Regions from separate parts of the Homo sapiens genome. Here region 2 is linked to region 1. Evidence: promoter capture Hi-C in human tissues and cell types (Jung and others, 2019). All regions are on one chromosome and are shown on one strand. The core of a region is centred on a gene start or on the middle of the fragment in contact, and the rest is flanking DNA. Distances in the headings are between cores, read along the strand shown. Region 1 holds the start of VEZF1 (vascular endothelial zinc finger 1). Region 2 holds the start of RNF43 (ring finger protein 43).

The links. The method cuts DNA at HindIII sites, captures the fragments that hold promoters and counts their contacts. A contact is called where the count stands out against the background at its distance.
Region 2: the fragment with the promoter of RNF43 here is called in contact with the fragment with the promoter of VEZF1 in region 1 in 1 of the 25 tissues and cell types used here (mesendoderm cells).

What each region holds. Positions count from the first base shown.
Region 1 is chr17:57,985,846-57,991,679 of GRCh38, forward strand. VEZF1 (vascular endothelial zinc finger 1) reads right to left here and starts at 2,409. Exons shown (of 6, transcript NM_007146.3): 1 at 2,234-2,409. The coding sequence starts at 2,266. LOC101929185 (a long non-coding RNA gene) reads left to right here and starts at 2,265. Exons shown (of 1, transcript XR_001752716.3): 1 at 2,265-5,189. It also overlaps a transcript of SRSF1 not described here. RefSeq lists silencers at 1,672-1,741, 1,822-2,301, 2,372-2,651 and enhancers at 2,802-2,851, 2,872-3,011. The HindIII fragment of the contact is 6,267 bases long and covers 1-4,930 here.
Region 2 is chr17:58,413,868-58,419,701 of GRCh38, forward strand. RNF43 (ring finger protein 43) reads right to left here and starts at 3,667. Exons shown (of 10, transcript NM_017763.6): 1 at 3,150-3,667; 2 at 1,459-2,095. The coding sequence starts at 1,710. The HindIII fragment of the contact is 9,725 bases long and covers 198-5,834 here.

The sequences.
Region 1 (5,834 bases), core at 1,159-3,658:
TTATCTGGAAAGCAAGCAGGTATTAAATTGTTTCAAAATATAAATTCAACAGGATGCTCCAGGAAACAAACAAGATAATTTAACTCCATATCCCCAGTGAAAATTACTTAAAACCAGAACTGATTAAGTCTATTCATACCTTTCCATAGAAAAGACTGAAATATTCTCTTTACCCATTCAACTGCTCTCGGCTCTAAATTTTAAGTTTTCCAACAAATTTCACTGCACACATTGCCAAGCCCAGGATTAAATATTTGTTTTCACACTTCTCCATCAGGTGGAAAAAAAGATTTTAATAGCTGAAAAAAATTAAATAATATAAAATCTAATTAAAAAGTTGATCAATAAACGCTTGGCATTTGTTTTACCCAGGAGAAAAATAATCTTTAAAAAAGTATTTCAAAAGATTTTTCAACCAGCTTTCCAAAGATGTGTTATGGGTTTTTCCTTTACATGAAGAACACTTTTTTTTTTCAATCTCTATAGACACCATGCTTAATATGGTTTTTAATCACACGAAAATCACTTCAGTGGCACATCAATCCCATATTTTAAAATAACCATTTGAGCTTTTTTCTGGGGAAAGTATTTGCCACCTTTACACCAACCTGGATGCATGCTAGTTATATATCATTTCTTTTCCAATGCATTTTCAAGTTGGTTTATCACATTATTAGCAAGCTCATCAAAGTACAATAAAACAACACTGATCAGAATGAGAAAAGGGGGAAGTTCATGAATTCCATAATGTTGGGTATTTTAGATTTTAAGAAGCCCAAATATATTTCCATAACTACTTAAAGATCAAATTGCCCACATTTGAAAAAATATGTCTTAAAACAACAGGCCAGTCTACACAGTAGGTAATTTCTGAGTTATCCAATTCTCTATATTAACTCCACTAGGATGAATCCAGTGGCTGGGAGAATAATTTTTTGAAAATTCTGCATCCGTTCCTGTTAGTTTCAAAAGGTATCAAGCGCCCCAGCTACGCGTTTGGGATTTCACGAAGTATTCAAAGGAAAATAACTCAGAGAGGCGGGAAGAACGCACTTAAAAGTGACGAGCTTCCTAACCTCCTCCAGTTCCGAAGTTTCCCCGTGAGCTCATCGCTACTGCCCACTGAATGCTTCGTTTTGCAAACAGAAACGAAGTAGGAAAAAAATAAGTTCCAGCCTAGATCTGCCAAACAGGGGTCCCCCATCTAAAGTGGGCGGGCAAGAGAATTGCCAAAACACATCGGCTACAGTCACTTTCAAGTTTCTTGCAAAAAAGCGAAGACCAACATCCCAGAGAGTGACTCATCTGGGGGCTTTGTAAGCGGACTTTGTTTGCTCTCTCCACTTGGTTGGAGGAAACGTTCGAGGTGGGCGAGAAAGAAAAGCGCTTCGGGAGAAGGTCGGGCCTCCAGGAGTCCCGGCCCCCACCGCTCCCCGCCTGCCCCGGGCCGGCCCGGCTGGGGGATTCCCCAGGCTGAATGGGACGGCGGGAGAGCTGGACAGAGGGAGAAGGTGTCAGCTGCCAAGGCTCGGCTGAGACTTGGGAAAAAAAAATGTAAATCCAGTGAAAAAGTTTGGGGAGGGGATACACACTCACAACATCCGCCCCCCCAACTGGGTAAACACGAGAGGGGTGGTGGCGGTGAGGGGGAGTGGCGGGGAACCTGGGGATACCCGCTATTCGCGGGGACACGGGAGGGGGTCAGAAAGTCAACACACGCACGCACACACACAAAAAGACGAGGAAGGTGAAAAGAGAACAAGCGAAAGATGGATGAAGTGGCGGGGAGGAGACTCAGGGCAGGACCTGGGGACCTCCTCACCCCACCGTGGGGGACCGGGCCGGCACGCAATGGCCCAGCAGCCCGCGCTATCCAGCGGCCCGGCGCCCTCCTTTCTCTGGGCCGCGGGGTGGTGACAGCGACCGGCCTCCTCCCTTCCCCTTCAGAGCGAGAGGGAAGGGTGTGTGTGAGTGTGTGTGTGTGCGTGTGTGTGCTGGGGGGCCCCCGGGTTCACCCCGCGGCCTGCTATCTCCCCCGCACCCCGTGAGGCCGCCTCCTTTCACCTCAGCAGCCCCGCTTCGCCGGGGCGGGCGGGCGGAAAAACAAAGGGGGATTAAGGCCGGGCCGGAGAGCGGAGCCGGGAGGGAGGGGAGGAGGAGCGCCCGCCCGCCCGCCAGCCCGGGGCCCGGCCCCCCTGTCCCCCCCGTGCCCCCCCGGGGGGGCCCCCAGTACCTGGAACAGGAACGCGGTCCAGTTGGCCTCCATGGCTGCGGCGGCCGACCCCCCTCCTCCCCACTCCCCCCGCTCGGGGAGCCTCCTCAGCCGGAGGAGGCGACAACAAAGCGGCGGCGGCGGCGGCGGCAACGGCAGCGGCGGCTCCTCAACATGGCAGCGCCGAGCGCGGCCACTTCCGGTAACCTCCGGGACGCACCACCGCGGCGGCGAGCGCGGGCGGGGGGGGAGCCCCGGCCCGGCCGCCGCCGCCCCCAGTCGCCCGGACCCCCTCTGGGCGTCCCCGCTGCCGGCTCGCCGCCTCGGAGCTCAGCCAGTGCCCGCTGGCGGTGGGGTCAGGGCCCCCGCGGGGGGGCTGGGGTGGGGCCCGGGGCGGGGATGGGGCGCGGCGTCCCCCCCCGCGGGGGTGTGTGGTGCTGCGGTCCGTGGCTCAGGCAGCTGGAGCAGGGGGAGCTCAGGAGAGAAGATGGAGGACGCCAGGGTCTGGCGCTGGCCCGCTGGGCACAGCTGGGCCGTCTCCCGTGACTCAGACACGGTGTCCAGCACCGTCGCGTCCCTGTTAGACCCTCAGCGGAGGGCACAGGCCACGGCGGACACTCGGCTCTTCAGTCGCTCATGCACAGCATGGTCCCCACCTCCAAACTGGGGGAAGCCCTTTCGACTTCGAGCCTCTCTTCCTTTTGGCATTTCCTCCCCGGCCGGCTAAGCCCTCTGCGCTCTCGCTATGATATGCATCTCATGGCGAGATGGCCTTCCAACTCAAGCAGGGAATCCCACTGGGGTGCAGCCTCAGATCCTCTCAGTGTGGAGGGAAACACTTCCCACGCGTAGAGATGTCATTACTGGGTTATTCTTGGGTGAAGGGCTGAGCCTCCCCATCCTCCCCTTCACTCCAAGATAGGATGTGAAATTCTATCCCAACACCCCTCCTCTCCCGCCAAAAATAAAAACAAGTGAGATAGTATAGACAAATTATTTTAGTCCTTTAGTACAGTCTGTTTCCTCCTTCACCCCCAGAACAAAAATCGAACTTCTGGTTGGACAGCGTCAGATGTCACTGAGGTGACCCCAGCCTGTTTGCAGTTCCAAGTCTTCCGTGTAGGCGTCACTGCTACTGGAACTTTGTAGATGAGGAGCCTGTATGATGATGTCCTGAACATTTCTATCCTTTCCTCACACAGAGGGAAGCTACTGGGAATATCAGAGACAAGCTATTATTAAACAAGTGTCTCTAGTCCAAGACATCTCCTGTGGCAGGGAAATGAGGGGGCAGGCTGTATCAGTGATATTTTTATAAACTCTGGTTTTAGAAAAAATTCTTCAGATGGACGCATTATTTTAAGACTTTAACATTTTCCAAAACCAACTGAATCTTATCCCCTCCATTTATCCCCCTCCAGACACTTCTAATCAAGGTCACCATCTCCAACTTCCCCCATAGACAATAAAAATATGGCTGGAGAATTCTACTGTAATAGAAAACCAAGGAGATATAGTAATTTGACAGTGTGTTTCCTTTCCATCCACTAGACAAGAATACCCCCTCCCATTCTTTCCTCCCCTCAGTCACCAGAATGAAGGGGCTGGAAAACGTTGGTCTGGTTCCTTTTAGAGCTGATTCCCCATTGGATACTGCCTGGAGGCCTTGGGGATGAATGAGAAGTTCTGCAGTTTGGATCAGTAGCAGAAGCAGGTAACACATCAGGGAACCGGTCAGCCTAAGATAGGAGGGGACAGAAAATGATGAAAGAGTTTCTGATACATTTATCAGCTAAATTGCTATGGTCACCCCCATGTCTCCTGTAATGTCCAAACCTAAGGAATTAACTAAGTAAACTAAAACCTTTGTGTTCTTGCTCTGACCTTGGACAATGGAATTCTTCTTATTTTCATTCAGTGGATAGCAAATCTGCTTCTTCCCTGCCTTAACTCACTCAAGGTCTCTGTGATGCACTCCAGAGTTTTCCTCCTTCCCTGCATAGTCTTCTCCTCCCTAGCTGCCTTTCAAATTGGTGAAAATGAAGCTTCAGGATTATGAAAACTAGTACTTAATGAAGACCATTATTCTAATGACAATATCGCTGGACTCTTGAACTTGTTATGCTGGGATCTAGAAACCCTTTCCCCAGCAATCTTTCACACAGCACCTCTGGGAAGCGGTTTCCCACTAACAGGAAATAGAGGTCAAGTGGAAACAGTCCAGTTCTCATTACTGAAAAGCTAAGATTCAGAAGAATCACTTTTCTTGAGGAAAATGGCTAATTCTATTTCTATCCATAAGACAAAATCAGAATTGATTGCTCCTCAAACATTCTTTAAAAAAAAATTAACCTTTTAAGTTCATGTAAATTTTAAACACTGAGCTATTTTCCAGAAGGAAAATACTCAGAAGTTTGAAACAAGTACTCAAAAACAATCGGTTCCAACTGTTAGAGGAATATAATGAAACCAGTATGATCAAATGCTCCATCCTTACCTAGAAGGGGCTATTTCTACTTTTAGGACAGAAAATTTCTCTAACCAAACAAAAAGGAGCTCTCTCCTTAAGTGAGCTTCCACAGACTATATACTGGGGTCCAGTCAAAAGACAGATGTCCAAAGACAGCAAATTCATCTAGATTATTGTAAACAATTTTCGGTGAGTGAGTAAATGGTATTACCTTCAGCCATGATGAATAAAGCATCTAAGCCAAAAATACAATGTGCCTACATCTACCCAAACAAAAGTCAGATCCCCAACTTGCCCTGTTCAGGTTCCTCTCTCCTCCTCCCACACTCCAAGTTGTATAACCTGTCACCTAACCTTTTAGGGTCTCAGCTTCCTCATCTGGAAAATTAGAACAAAATATCTACCTCACAATGGTCACCTGTGGATTTAATGAGAAATATGTGTAAGATGCTTAGAACATTTTCCAGATATATAACAGATGTGAAATAAATATTTTTATTGGTGTTATCGAGTGGTTCTAGATTAACTTTGGGGCTTGGAACTCTGCACATAAGCTCTGAGCCAGTTAATTATCCCTTTTACTTTCGCCAAGTGACAGGTTTTCTCCCATCCATTTCTCCTTCAAAGAGCCCTAAGGTAAACGGGCAAAGGGCTAATGACACATAACAAAGGAAGATGCCTATTAAAATCTGTTGTTCTAAACACAACTTTTAGTAAACATTAGAAAGCAACAGGATATTTCCTTCCTCATTTGGAGAGAATTTTAAAGTCCTGTGAATACATTGAGGATGTGGATTACAGACTTAGAATCCTAGGAAAAGAAAGTATCTCTGCCGTTGTCAATTACCTGTCCCCAGCTAAGACTGCTCCACAAACTAAAAACAAATCCAAAACTTTCAGTAGGGAATATCTAGTTAGAAGCTTCAAATTGGCAAGTTAATGGACCAACTCTTTATGCAAAAAAGCCAGAACTGACAATTAACAAATTTAATAGTAAAAATCAAGATTGCAATATTTAGAAATACCAAAAAGTATTGGCCAGAAAGAAATAACCCTTCCATATCAGCCTCAATACAATCAGGAGAAAAAGCAACATATTTTCAAAGTGACACCCCCCCCATCCCCCCTTAAATACTCCAAACTCCTCAGGGA
Region 2 (5,834 bases), core at 2,417-4,916, 430 kb after region 1:
CTTCAGTGATATCAAAATATGACTAGCAAAATTACTTACGGTCCTAAAATGGAGCACACAATTCATGCTTCAGGGTATTAACTAGGCAAGGCCAGGAAGGAAGTTTCCTTTCCAATTGCCATAGTATTCAAGATGATTTATGAGTTCAGCTTTTAAGTATTCCTAATTCCATTTTAGAATCCAAATTATCTTATTCAAAAAAATCTTATGCCATTTTTCCAGATATACTCTTCTTTCCTATTTTTCTAAATAGCAAAGCCTTCCATTTTCACCTAATTCTCCTTCACTTCATTTATCCCAGCTTCAAAATATTGCCTAAGAAGTGATAATGAATAACCACTAAACCATATATTAAAGAATACATGTTTAGGAATAAGTTCTATAATCTGTTAAATTTTCCTATCTTCTTTAAGTAGACAAAAATTAAAATTCATACAATAAATTGGTTCTGTTCATAGTCTGTTCATACCACAAAATTAAAATTTGAGTTTGGATGCTAAGATGGATCACACTTAAGAATATTTTAACCTGTGTCCAGTAGCTACAGCAAGAAGTGTTCTTTTACATGATAAATTTCAATCAATAAGCAACATCATTTTATGGAGTAAGACAATGGAATGCCCATTAAAAAGGTATAGCCCTCTAGGCTCTGTCTTTACTATGGGGAATGAGCAATTGGTCTATGAAATGCTGTGCCCCCAGTCATTTCATAAATTCACCACATAAAGAATAGGCCATGTATGAATGACTTACAGGCAAAATTCACAGCCTGAAAGCCTAAGAAACTATGTCTGAAAAACTTGGCGGATCAGTAAAAAACATGTTAAATTTAAATTCCTGAAAATGATAAAATTATGTGTGGACAAGGCCAAAGTGATCAGGAGGCAGGTTTACACCTTGTGTCCATTTTGTAATCCAGTCCTCTCCATTTTGGGGTTAGCAATAGGGTGCCACACGTGGTGTAAGGCCAGCCATAGCATTCAAGCTTGACTGAATTTTAAGTGACACAGTAATCAAATATGCTCCAAGGGCATTCCAGAATTTCAGGTGCTGCTGACCATTAAAATCAACCTTCTTAGTGCTTACTTCAATTTAAACAGGATGTAAAATACAATCCTCGCATCAATTAAATATAAGCTCATATATTTCATCTATCAAAAATTAGTGCCCAGAATATATCACTTGAAAAAAAGGTATTATTATGTCTATCTAAGTAGTTATGCAACACCAGTTTAAAATAAGCAGATAATCTTCTAAAATATAGGATTTATGTATTTCCTCCAGAGTATAAAATAATAATTTGCTAAATTTAGAATGCCAATAAGGCAGTATCTACTCTTTCTATGAAATAGAAAGCTAAGCAGTAGAAGCCCGTGTATGGTATTTCATTTGGGAGACAAAAGAAGAAAGACATATTTCAAACAGATGGAAAGTGAAATATAATAAAGTTATACTTGCCTGCATTAATTTTCCTTCTGCTGGAGTTATTTCAGCAACACCAGCAAACACACCTTCCAAAGTGAGATTCAGTTTTCCTGTGGGGTCCATTTTCAAGGGGATCACTCTGATAATAGCTTTCTGTTCTGCTGATCTTTCAGACTCCACCGCTGCTGCCAGTACCAGTCCTGTGCGTCCAAAGCCTGCCTGCAGGGTAGCCATCAGCAGCCAGGGCCAGAGGGCAGCCAGCTGCAGCTGGTGGCCACCACTCATGCTACCAGCTGCAGCAATGCACTTCAACCATACATACTGCTTCCACTAGCTAATACCAAATGCAGGTTCTCAGATCCAGACAAATGGAGGAAAAGAACATTTATGCTTCCGTTTCAGAAAGCCAAGTCGTAGTTTTGGCCCTTCCTTTCTCTAAAGTTTATTCCCAAAAACAGGTAGCATTCCTGATTGGGCAGAGAAGAGGATATTTTCAGCCCACATCTGCTGCAGGTATGTCATTTTCTCCCATCTTCACTGTGACTAGTAAAGATCTCACCACTTCTCTTTGGAATTTCCAACTTTGCTTGTGATTGAATGTCACTTCGTGAATTTGTATTATGTCAGATCACTTGGCATTGCTCTTCCATATGCATCAAGTTGCCAGGCACTAAACCCAATGTTCATGAACAAAACAAGGCAAAGTAAACAGCTAAGGCCATGCATCAAAGGTGAGCGTGAAGAACTCCAGCTCAGAAAAGGAAGGGATGGCCCTTTTTAAGCCATAATATGTGTTAATGGTAAATGACTAAATACCACAAGGAGATTTTTTTTTTAATGGAGGAGAAGAGGGAACAATAATAAAAATTTCAGGCCACACGTTGATGTCCAAAGATGCTACAATATGTATTTAGAAAAGTTTCCACATTAAACTGTATTTCAGTGTGGCCAGGTTTCTAGGCCCACTGCATTTACATACTTTTCATGAACTTAGACATACCATAATTTTTTGTGTTTTACCAAAATTTGCCTATAAATTAGGTGCTAATTTATGTATCTTCACACATTACAGGATAATCCTGAGCATCACAACCTTTTCCAACTTTCATAATTAGAGTATTTGAAAAGGTTAGCTTTCCAATTATTTTTCCCAGTTAAAATTCATATTTCCATCTCCATTTTCTTTTCTCTCTTAAGGATTCTTGATTTTATTCTCCAGCTCGGAAATGCCGAGCACTTTGATTTCCCATGAGATGCTTTTGGAAACTACTTTAATATCCAGATTTTATGATCTGTAATTTTCTAGGTTCATAAGAAAAACAAAGGACTATTCCTCACATGTATCCAAATTCCCTGAGGGGGTAGGGAATAAAAGGTAGGGGGAGCAGGGAGGCGATTAACCACAGGCTCTAGGTAGAATACCCTGAAAAAATACAAATAATCTTGAGTAGAATAGATCTGTGCTATTTCTAGGCACTATGAAAATTTGCGTCTTTGTACAAACACAGAATAAGATTTTTAAAATGTGCACCCTTAAGTAAATATAAATACACCTCACCCACAAAGCCCTCTGTGTTCCAAGGTCAAGTTTAAAAATATTATAAAGTCTTCAGAATAAGTGCTGAAAAGCCAAGCAATTGAACATGAACCTGTTATATGGATTCTTTTCTTTTGCTGAGGCAGAGGGAGGGGGGAAAAAGGAATTTCAAAAGAAATCTGCAAACCTGTTGCGCTGTCGGGCCCACTGGAATCCACGGGGGTGAAACAAATTCAATTATGCTTTTACAGATCCTGCTCAAAAAAGGTTTCAACTGCTTAACCAAGTACAGCTCATTCTTCCACCTTCTTACTCTGCAACCAAACCAAGTGCCCCATACTACAGGTAGGTGCCGAGAAATTCCGCAGCCTGAAAAAATAATCCATGCAGGTCAAAGGCAGAAATTTACTCCGGGATGAGAGATGCTGTCCCCTAGAACTAAATTAAACACTTACAGAAAATCCAAAATCATTTCTGAAACCTCCTTGCTAACAAAAGTTCTTTTTTTCTCCAAACAGCATATAAAATGATCAAGTCTTGAAAGAGAAAAGAAGCAAAGTAGCAAATACATCAACAATTCACTATCAGAAACACATAAAATCCCAGAGAGAGAGAAGGCAGTATCTCTGAATCATGGATGGACTTGGAAAGTTCGGAAGGATTCCGAGTGCTTCCTTTCAGAAAGACAATTCTGGATCAACTCCCTAGAGCAGGAAGCCTGTGGTTTGTAATTGGTGTTCTAGCTCTGACTCCCTCCCCTGGGACTGCAATCACGCTCTCTACCTGCTGACAAAGTGAGGGTGGAGCTGCTAGAGGCAACCACTCCCCACCCTGCCCCCCTCCTCCTGGTGCTCACACACAACACTTACTTAACCAGACCCGTTCTTTCGCTCTCCCCCCTCCCTCAGCTCCTCTACTCCCTCTACTGAGCCACAGCTAAACTGCATCCAATTCGATCCCGAGTACCTTTCTCTGGGTAAGCAAGCTACCACATGCAAATCAGGGCCACTCAAAGATATCTAAGCAGACTCTGCACCCAACAGAGCATAGATGATGGTATGAGGAAATAAACAGAAAAAAATAAAGGTAATCCGGAAGATAAAAGAATGGACACAAGGTTTTGCAAATATAAGTTCAAAAGGATTTCTGCTCATTCCAAGTTTGAGTGTCTATAAATGGCAGAAAGCCAGAATAAAGTGATCCTGTGTTTTAGTACTTACTGATTTATTGCTGCTTATGTCTGCTACCCTGGGAAGGGCTCTGTCCATTTTATGCTTAGCTTTTCTTCAGCTCTTACTAATTTAAATTCAGTAGCTCTGTCTAAACTGTGCCTATATGGAACTTTCAAATCAGGTTGATGTCAGATGTCTGGAATCCAACTGTTATTTTCTTTTCAATCTTTGGGAGGTGAAATAATACTATGGATCAGACCTATGCCTTCAATGTAAGACTCCAAATAAGTCCATGTCATAAATACAAGCCAAAGGGTAAAATATGATTAATGAGAAGAACATAGGCAAAAAGAAAATGAATTTCTGGCTAATTACCACATTCATGAACTATAATCCTTATTACTACCCTGCCATTAGAAATAATACAACAGTTTCTAATACATTTATAACATTTGAAGTTTCAAATTACCAGATTATATTTGACTGTGGTGAGACATTTTATTTCTGAACCGCTGCCATAAACTTTCAAAATTATACAAATGAACAACAATGTGGATATAGTTAAATCTAGTGAACTGTACACTTAAAAATGGTTATGATAGTAAATTTTATGTGTTTCTTACCTCATGTAAAAACGAATCTCTGATCATCTGTAAAATGCTGATGATAATAATTACGATAGGTCTGTTGTAAAGATTAAATGACATAATGCCTCTGAAAGCAAAAAGGATGAGTAGCCTATTGACCTTCAACATTGTTTCCCCTGTAGATAAGGTTTATGACAGTAGTTTCAGAATTTCAGATCTAATAACTAACCTAGATCAAAGACAAATTCGAAAATAAATTTTTTGTTTATTTTTGTTGTTTGAGACAGGGTCTTGTGTTACCCACGCTGGAGCACAGTTGTGCCATCATGGCTCACTGCAGCCTTGACCTTCATGGCCTCCCACCTCAGCCTCCAGAGTAGCTGGGATCACAGGTGCGTCCCACCACACCCTGCAAATTTTTTTTTTTTTTTTTTTGAGACGGAGTCCCGCTCTGTTGCCCAGGCTGGAGTGCAGTGGCGCTATCTCGGCTCACTGCAAGCTCCGCCTCCCGGTTCATGCCATTCTCCTGCCTCAGCCTCCCGAGTAGCTGGGATTACAGGCGCCCGCCACCACGCCCAGCTAATTTTTTGTATTTTTAGTAGAGACGGGGTTTCACCGTGTTAGCCAGGATGGTCTCCATCTCCTGACCTTGTGATCCACCCGCCTCGGTCTCCCAAAGTGCTGGGATTACAGGCGTGAGCCACTGCGCCTGGCCAACACCCTGCAAATTTAAAAAAAATTTTTGTTGGGCCAGGCGTGGTGACTCACGCCTATAATCCCAGCACTTTGGTTGACCAAGGTGGGTGGATCACGAGGTCGGGAATTTGAGACCAGCCTGACCAACATAGTTTAATTTAACATAGTTAAACTAAAAAATAACCTACAAATGGGCTTTGCCTCATCTATTCCTGCTTAAAACGTGCAAAGGAATGAAAAGACCTAGCCCTAGTAATTAATACACACACTTAATTGACAGAAAGAAGACAGTTACAAATGTGGTTGCCCTCTCTTGAGGAAACTCTGAGATTTGGAAATGATGATGATATGCATCATGAACCTGGAGACTTGGAGAAACTCAAGATCAAACCAAACAGCTCTATGTAGCTTAGTTCA